3 separate regions of the Homo sapiens genome follow, and all the other regions are linked to region 1. Evidence: promoter capture Hi-C in 16 types of primary human blood cells and fetal thymus (Javierre and others, 2016). All regions are on one chromosome and are shown on one strand. Each heading gives the region's core, a stretch centred on a gene start or on the middle of the fragment in contact. The rest is flanking DNA. Distances are from core to core; before and after follow the strand shown.

What was found. The method cuts DNA at HindIII sites, captures the fragments that hold promoters and counts their contacts. A CHiCAGO score of 5 or more calls a contact.
Region 2: a contact is called between a fragment that was not itself captured here and the fragment with the promoter of VAMP2 in region 1, in 1 of 17 cell types (megakaryocytes). The highest score is 5.1, in megakaryocytes.
Region 3: a contact is called between a fragment that was not itself captured here and the fragment with the promoter of VAMP2 in region 1, in 4 of 17 cell types (non-activated CD4 T cells, total CD8 T cells, total CD4 T cells and 1 more). The highest score is 7.3, in non-activated CD4 T cells.

Annotation. Positions count from the first base shown.
Region 1 is chr17:8,161,442-8,164,392 of GRCh38, reverse strand. It overlaps VAMP2 (vesicle associated membrane protein 2), which reads left to right and starts at 1,445. Exons shown (of 5, transcript NM_014232.3): 1 at 1,445-1,515; 2 at 2,024-2,144; 3 at 2,627-2,785; 4 at 2,869-2,920. The coding sequence starts at 1,514. RefSeq lists silencers at 1,078-1,137, 1,268-1,367, 1,528-1,717, 2,008-2,117 and an enhancer at 2,228-2,277. The HindIII fragment of the contact is 9,788 bases long and covers 1-2,951 here.
Region 2 is chr17:8,326,125-8,329,075 of GRCh38, reverse strand. No RefSeq gene overlaps it. Among named protein-coding and RNA genes, the nearest start is that of ODF4, 12 kb to the left of the region's middle. The HindIII fragment of the contact is 1,610 bases long and covers 683-2,292 here.
Region 3 is chr17:8,302,799-8,305,749 of GRCh38, reverse strand. LOC124903915 (a long non-coding RNA gene) reads left to right here and starts at 900. Exons shown (of 2, transcript XR_007065606.1): 1 at 900-1,059. LOC124903914 (a long non-coding RNA gene) reads right to left here and starts at 1,749. Exons shown (of 2, transcript XR_007065605.1): 1 at 1,301-1,749; 2 at 685-911. RefSeq lists a cis regulatory region at 847-1,235. The HindIII fragment of the contact is 475 bases long and covers 1,176-1,650 here.

The sequences.
Region 1 (2,951 bases), core at 196-2,695:
AGCCAGGGTGGGGGAGGGAGGAAGCTGGTTCCTGTTTGTCTTAGAGATCAAGGCCATCAGCCTCCCTGCACCTTCCAGGGATGTAGTAAGCACCCCCACCCCAGGGCCAAAGGGCCTCGCCTAAAATGCCTCCTGCACCCTTGAGGCTTGCTTTGACCCCCTGCACTCCACCAGAGCGACAGCTCCCCTGGTCCCATCTTCTCTGACAAGCTGGGTGGGAGTGTATACAGCTGCTGGGTGTGCTTAGAGGGCCTAATGGAGACCAGCCAGGGATAATCTCCTATGTTATCCACATCAAGCCATTTAACAAATATGGATTTAGTACCTACATATGCAATGTATTTGGGGTCCAGAGAGAGGAGGGCAACGGTCCAAGGTCACACCTGCGAGGCGAATACGCATGTAAAGCAGCACCTTGTAACCTGTGCCCACTGTGCCTACTACTAAAGAAAAAAAAATGAGAGAAAAAGAAAAAAGGCTTTTTTTTTTTTTTTGGCCCAGGCCCTGTGCCTGGGACCAAAGCCTGAGCCCTTTCCTGCAGTCGGGTCGCTGACCTAAGCCTGGGGCAAAGCTAGGTCTTGGCCAGTCAGCAGCCACCACGTGAAGCAGCCCCTGCCCCCATCACCCCCGGCAGCCTTGTGCCCTCCTCCTCGGGGTCCTCAGCTCACCCCACCTCAGTCGGGCCTGCTCCAGCGGTTAAGTACCCCTAGTCTGAACCTTAATCGTGAGGCGGGGCAGCCCCCTCCCCACACCCTGTAGACACTCCCCCGTCCTCCGCCCCCTGGACTTGTTTGGGCGGGAAGAGCCTGCCTCATCTTTTCTTCCTACCCTCCTACCCAGTGGCCAGGGACCCCAGGCTTCCTCTGAGACATCCACCAGCGGTGATGGGTTGGGACCAATCTCCCCCACTCCTCTCCACCCTAGCAGTAAGGTCCCCGCTCTCGATACTGCCCCAGCACCTGCACTGGCCCTCTCTGATTTCCCAACTCCAGCCCATTCCAAGTGCTGAAGGCGGGTCGCTAGGTGCTGGGACCTGGGCGCGGGGCAAGACCTTGGGCTGTGTGGGGTGCAGGCTGGTTTACTGGGTTCACGATTGAGGGAGTGGTCTGGGGGTTAGGTGTAGGGCCAGGCTGCGTTGTGCTCTAAGGGGCAGGCGGCAGGCGGTTTGGGGGGGCTGTGGTCAGACAGGGTGGGGTGGCGGTGGGTTTGGGGAAGCCGCAGCAGCCCGCCTTGGGGTCCCGCGAGTGCCGAGGGAGCTGCCGGGGCATGGTGGCGCGGGGCCCGTGGTCCTGCCCGGCACGACCCCCGCCCCGCAGCGCCCCGCAGCGCCCCGCCCCCGCGGCCCCGCTCGCGACGCGTCTCCCGCGGCGCCCCGCCCCCGCCCGCAGTGCCCGGATGCGGGTGACGCGCGGCCGCCATCTTTCCGTCCCGGGCAGCCAGCGCCAGTCGGAGCCAGCGCGAGCCGCCGCCGCCATCACTGCCGCTGCCAAGTCCTCCACCCGCTGCCCCCGCCATGTGAGTCGGCCGCCCGCCACCCTCACCGCGCTTCCCTGCGCCGGCCGCCGCCCTTGGCAACCGGCCGTCGGGAGTGCCCGGGGTCTCTCCTGCGTTCCCCGCGCCCCGGGGCCAGGCCCAAGCCGGTGACTGCGCGCGGGCGGCCGAGGAGCCCCGCGTCCCGGGCTGGCCGGCTCGGGCGATGGCCGCGGGAAGGAGCGGACCCAGTGTCCTCCTGCCCCTCCCCGCCCCTGTCACCGCGGCCGCCTGTCTTTTCGGGTCGACCCGGATCGCATCTGTGAGGTCGCCCTCAGTTGACAGGCGGGGAAACTGAGGCCGGGGGGGCCTCGCTCAAGGTCACGCAGCTCATCGGCGGCAGGGCTGGACCGAGACCAGGGCTTACATCGGGTGGCCTTCCTCCCGAAAAGGAGGACTGGAGGGACGAGGATGGACAGGTGGATGGGCGGAGCCCTGGCTGCGGGGCCGGGAGGCTGCAGGCCCTGGGTCTTAATCCGTCCCTGCTCCTCAGGTCTGCTACCGCTGCCACGGCCCCCCCTGCTGCCCCGGCTGGGGAGGGTGGTCCCCCTGCACCCCCTCCAAACCTCACCAGTAACAGGAGACTGCAGCAGACCCAGGCCCAGGTGGATGAGGTGAGTGTGGGGGGAGTCAAAAGCAGTAGGAGGGACCCTGGGGGTTGGCGTATAGGTGTAGGGGCCCATGTTGGTTTGGGAGTGATGACAGTTCACGCCTGTGGGTTTGCGGACAAAGATACCATGCCCCATCCCTGTCTCCCTGTCAGCACGCACTTGGAAGGGCGCTGGGGGTGTTAATCAGCTTTGCTAGCCTGGGGTGTGCCAGCCTGGGCAGGTGTGCTCTGGTGATGGACAGAGCGCCTGAGGTTCCATAGAGGGAGGGTGTTGCTATGACATCTGAGATGTCACCAGCATGCCCCTGATGTGTGCTCCTTGCATGTCCCCAGGTGTGCTAGGCATGTTCTGTGTGTCCTTGGCATGTTAACCTGGCAGTATCAGGGTGCATGTTCCATGTGTGGCACGGTGGGCACATGTTTGAGGATTGCCCTCACTGAGGTGGGCCTTGGCACACCCCCCTGCCTCGTGGGCCCTTCTCCCAGGTGGTGGACATCATGAGGGTGAACGTGGACAAGGTCCTGGAGCGAGACCAGAAGCTGTCGGAGCTGGACGACCGTGCAGATGCACTCCAGGCGGGGGCCTCCCAGTTTGAAACAAGCGCAGCCAAGCTCAAGCGCAAATACTGGTGGAAAAACCTCAAGGTAAGGGTGGGGACAGGAAGGAGGACAGGTGGGTGAATGGGGTATCATAGTTTGTCTTACTGATCCTCGCCTCTCACCCCCAGATGATGATCATCTTGGGAGTGATTTGCGCCATCATCCTCATCATCATCATAGGTGAGTAGGGTGAGAATGGCCGGGGCCCTTT
Region 2 (2,951 bases), core at 238-2,737, 160 kb before region 1:
AAGGCACACAGGAGAGGAAGAGCTGCCAGTGAGATAAATGGCCTCTCTGGAATAGCTAAGAGTACAATTGTATTGTGGATTATCTGAATCAGTTAGGACTCTGTAGCTAATAAAAGAAAGGAGATTCAAACTGGTTTAAGGGATAAAGGGAATTTAATGACCTATAGAACTGAAAAATCCAGGCTGGTCTCAGTGGCTCGTGCCTGTAATCCCAGCACTTTGTAAGGCCCAGGCGGGCAGATCGCCTGAGGTCAGGAGTTTGAGACCAGCCTGGCCAACATGGTGAAACTTCATTTCTACTAAAAATACAAAAATTAGTGGGGCATGATCGCAGGCGCCTGCAATCCCAGCTACTCAGGAGGCTGAGACAACAGAATCACTTGAACCCAGGAGGCAGAGGTTGCAGTGAGCCAAGATCATGCCATTGCACTCCAGCCTGGGTGACAGAGTGTGACTCCATCTAAAAAAAAAAAAAAAAAAAAAAAATTAGCTGGGCATGGTGGCGCATGCCTGTAGTCCCAGCTACTAGAGAGGCTGAAGTATGAGAATAGCTTGAACCTAGGAGGCAGAGGGTTGCAGTGGGCCGAGATCGTGCCACTTCCTTCCAGCCTGGGCAACAGTGCGAGATCCTGCCTCAAACAAACAAACAAACAAAAATAACTGAAAAATCAAGATAAAAGCTTCAGATGAGACTTGATCCTGGAACTCAAGTGATGATAACAAGGACCTGGCTTTCCCCTTGTCTCTCCATTTCCAGTTTTGTGGTGTTGGCTCCTTCATCAGGCTGTATCCAGTGGCCTCCCCAGCAACTCCAAGCTGCCTCTCACTGCACTAAAATGGCAGCCACTGATCCAAACCTTATATCCTCACACTGCAATGTCCAGGGGAAGAGAGAATGGCTCATTCAAGTGGCTCTTGGGTGGGTCTCGAATTAACTGTCTCTGAACTCATTGATCCAAATTGGGACACATACCCATCTCGACCCAATCACAATAACCAAGGGTTGTCGTAAATCAAGGAAGAGTAGCTGGGCGCAGTGCCTCCCCTGTAATCCCAGCACTTTGGGAGGTCGATGGGGGTAGATCATGAGGTCAAGGGTTCAAAACCAGCCTGGCCATATGGTGAAGCCCCGTCTCTACTAAAAATATAAAAAATTAGCCGAGTGTGGTGGCGCACGCCTGTAGTCCCAGCTACTCGGGAGGCTGAGGCAGGAGAATCGCTTGAACCCAGGAGGCGAAGGTTGCGGTGAGCCGAGGTCACGCCACTGCACTCTAGACTGGGTGACAGTGTGAGACTCCGTCTAAAACAAAAACAACAACAACAACTCAGGGTCACTTTCAAATCCAATTTTTAGTCAATATTTTGTATTCTTTATTGTTAAGGTTCCCCAAAAGTCTGGATTCAATCCCAACGCTTTCTCACAGAGGGCAGCTTCAGGTTTCTAACAGTGGACGGAGTGAGAGAGGCTTCGGGTCAGCGGTGGTTGTGAGGCAGTTTGGGCGCAGCCCACGGCTTCATGCCCCGCGGCGGGGGCACGTGCAGGCACCAGCTTGAAAAACTCCATCGGGCGTGGAGCTGACCCATTCGGGTCCGAAGCCAAACCTAGTCGGATCAAGCAGCTGAACGCAGGCCCCGGGACCTGGTGACTGCCGTTGCGACCTCGAGAGTGCTGCGGGTGGGTGGGAAGGAGGAGTGGCTAGCTCTGGGGACGTCGGGCAGTGTTCTGAACAGCGGGAGCCAGTGCCTCAACTTCCCCAGGATTCTTCCGCGGGAGCAGCCCACTCCCATACTCCGCCCCGCGTGGGAGGCGAGCGCTGAGAACCAGGAGACACAGCCAGGCCAGGAGACCCCAGAGTCCAGCCAGAAGACGTGCTGAGACCCCGCTGCAGGAAGCCCTATGGCCGCGCTGCGCTCACTCACTGAGTCCGGGTCTCCGGCAGAGAGACAGGGGCAGCCCCGCGGGAGGGGCGGGCGCGGGGCCAGAGCGGGGCCTGGCCACGTCCGGGAGGATGAACGGAGCCCCGCTAAGGTCGGGAGGACTTCGAGGAGCTCCAGCGCTCTGTTCCCCTTGGTGTCGCCCGAGGCTGATGGAGGGTGGTGAGACCGTGGCTTGGAGACGACGTGCTGGGGAGCAAGGTCGGGAGCCCGCCAGGCTCGCGGTGGAGCTGTCGCTGGAGAGGCACTGCTGCACCGGGACGGTGGGCTGGTGGGCTGGCCACCCTGGAGAACCTGAGCCTGCAGTTACCTCTGTAGCTGAACCTGCGAGTATGGAGGGTTTAGGAAAGAGAAGCTTTCCGAGATGGCTGGAGAGCCAGCCAGGCTGAAGGGCTCCGGAAAGGATCACAGGAAGTGGGCTGGAGGGTTCCTTGCGGGTGGAAGGAGGAGGAGAGAGCTAGTGAGCAGGCTTGGGGGCCGGGGCGTGGGGGGAAGAGGGCGAGGCTCCTCTCTTTCCTCTGTTGCTTGTGGGCATGATTGCAACCCCCACCCCCGTTTATCTGCGATGTTGGCCACTAAGATCTTGACCCGGAGCCCACAGAAGGCCAGCTCAAAGAGAGGCCCGTGCCCTTTACTATCTGCCTTATCTTGTAGGAAAAGAAAAACTTTTTATCTGAGGGGGGCAAGGCTTTTAAAATTATCAGGCCCATAGAGAGGATCGCTTGAGCCCAGGAGTTCCAGACCAGCCTGGGCAACATGGCAAAACGCCGTCTCTACAAAAAATACAGAAATTAGTCGGGTGTGTTGGCTCCTGCCTGTGGTCCCAGCTACTCAGGAAGCTGAGGCAGGAGGATCGCTTGAGCCCAGGAGCTCGAGGCTGCAGTGAGCCAAGATCGTGCCACTGCACTCCCGCCTGGGTGACAAAGCCAAATCTTGTGACAAAAAAAAAAAAAAAAATCAGGGCCAGAGAGGAATTAAAATGAGACAACAGTGACATCCCATTACCCCCTTTGAGC
Region 3 (2,951 bases), core at 164-2,663, 140 kb before region 1:
GGTCTCGAACTTCTGACCTCAGATGATCCGCCCACCTCAGCCTCCCAAAGTGCTGGGATTACAGGCGTGAGCCACCGCGCCTGGCCTGTATTTCTTAAATGTATTTGAATGTATTTGATTGAGGCCAGGCGCGGTGGCTCAAGCTTGTAATCCCAACTCTTTGGGAGGCCGAGGCGGGCCGATCAGCTGAGGCCAGGAGTTCGAGACCAGCCTGGCCAACATGGTGAAACCCCATCTCTACTAAAAATACAAAAATAAGCCAGGCGTGGTGGCGAGCGCCTGTAATCCCAGCTATTGTACTTGGGAGGCTGAGGCAGGAGAATCGTTTGAACCTGGGAGGCAGACGTTGCAGTGAGCCGAGATTGTGCCACTGCACTCCAGCCTGGGTGACAGAGTGAGACTTGGTCTCAAAAAAAAAAAAGTATTTGATAGAAGTCTCATGTCTCCCTAAAATGTATAAAAGCAAGCTGCACCCCAACTACATTGGGCACATGTTCTCAGGATCTCCTGAGGGCTGAGTCACAGGCCATGGTCACTCATATTTGGCTCAGAATAAATCTCTTCAAATATTTTACAGAGTTTGACTCTTTTTGTCAATATCACCATCTATTTTATTTGTGTCTTATCTCATTACAAAAAGAAACTGAGCTCCGAAAATCATATTATGCAGTAAACATGAGACTATTTGTGCATGCACACGTTATTTATTATAAAATACTTTTGCAAAGACACTGAAGGTTTTTGACGTAATAATTCATTCTTCTACCACCCTTACAGAGCAAAAGTTTTCTATTTTTTCATATTCCAAATGTGCCATCATAGTTTCAAGTCTGTCTTCTGCCTTGTTCTCTTAGCATTGCTTTATAACCAATTTTCATGTCGCTACGTGGTCTTTGCAGCTATAACGTTTCCTGGAATATAATGTTGCATCAAATAGATTTCATCTTCCTGGTAACAGCAGTGTCCATCTCCTACGAAACTCTCCATCACCCACCCGACTCCATGTGGTTCCAGTGGGACAGCCAATCACAACAGCCTCCCTCTGGCCACGTGACTCAGGTTTGTTCAATCACAGTGCCGTATTCCTCTGGCCACAGAGACTGGTCCAGGAATGAGCAGGTCAGGACAGACTCCAGGAGAAAGAGAAGCTTCTGGGCCTCTGAGAAAGAGAAGCTTTCTCTTTCCTCCAAGCTCACAAGGCAGGAACAATCTAAGTCAGGAGCTGTCTATACCTTGGCCTACTTCCTTCCCCTGGAAAAGGAGGAAGCCAGTCAACAGTGGGAGAAAATGAGCCCCATACCTGAGGGAAGCAGAGCCAAGAGAGGGAGGAAGCCTGGCGGTGGCGCATGCCTGTAGTCTCAACTACTCCAGAGGCTGAGGCAGGAGGATCACTTGAGCCCAGGAGTTCGAGGCTGCAGTGAACCAAGACCACGCCCCTGCACTCCAGCCTGGGTGACAGAGCAAAAAAAAAAGCTGGGGATTACAATGATATTTGAGTCCCTTGGACCTCCCAGCTTCCAGAGGCATGACATTCCCTTTTGCGCTTGAGCTGGTTTTAGCTGGTTTTCTGTCACTTACTGCTGAAAGAACCTTGACCATTACAATTTATCCCCTAGTGCAGAACTGGGAGACAGTCCTCCTAGGGAAGCTTACACTCTTTACCATTACAAATAATTAGTGCAGCCGGGCGTGGTGGCTCACACCTGTAATCCCAGCACTTTGGGAGGCTGAGGCAGGCAGATCACTTAAGGTCAGGAGTTCATGACCAGCCTGGACAACAAGATGAAACCCCGTCTCTACTAAAAATACAAAAATTAGCCAGGCATGTTGGCACAAGCCTGTAATACCAGCTACTCAGGAGGCTGAGGCCAGAGAATGGCTTGAACCCAGGAGGCGGAGGTTGCAGTGAGCCAAGATCACACGATTGTACTCCAGCCTGGGCGACGGAGCGAGAATCCGTCTCAAAAAAAAAAAAAAAAAAAAGACTTCAATTTGAAGTCTTTTTGAAGTATTATTATTATTATTATTATTTGAGACAGAGTCTTGCTCTGTTGCCCAGGCTGGAGTGTAGTGGTGCAATCTCGGCTCACTGCAACCTCCGCCTCCTGGGCTCAAGCCATTCTCCTGCCTCAGCCTCCCGAGTAGCTGGGACTACAGGCGCCCGCCACCACGCCTGGCTAACTTTTTGTAGAGACGGGATTTCACCATATTGGCCAGGCTGGTCTTGAACTCCTAATCTTGTGATCCTCCCGCCTCAGGCTCCCAAAGTGCTGGGATTACAGGCGTGAGCCACCACGCCCGGCCTGAAATATTATTAATGAAGTAACCCTAGGAGCTTCAATGTGACTGGTTTAGACTTTGCTTGGAGAGTCTGTTCTGGAAGGATGAAGGAGCCCATAAGCGTCTGCTCCATCTCTTTGTGTCCACACCCAGCAGCCTCCTTCGGTCTTCCTCATGTCATTGACCTGTTGGTTGGAAAAAGTGGGTGTCAGGGAGAAGAGGCACTTTGACTGTTCATTTAAAATCAGGCAGAGGGGTTTAGCCAAGCCAAGAGGCAGGGCATGAAGGAGCATTGTGGGAATCCAGGGAAGCGCAGGCACAGCGAAGAGGAAAGTAGGCACGTCTGGAGAACCGTGAAAGGGAAACAAACTGATCTGAAATGAAAAGAGGGACACATGGAGGCCATATCGTGAGCAATCACACCGGGCAGACAGGCCCTGAAGGTTTCAGAGCAGAGTAGGGGGAGTGGATCACGATAGTTTTTGTTTGTTTGTTTGTTTGTTTTTGAGACAGGGTCTTAAAATCGCCTTTGTAAAGTTATAACTGAGGAAATTATGACAGTGAAAGAAATCAGACCTCACCAGTTCCATGTTGCTTCTAATCTTTAAGCTGTCCTTGTTCATTCCTCAGCGTAGGCTGAACTAACTTTGGGAAGGAATTCAGTTCATGGT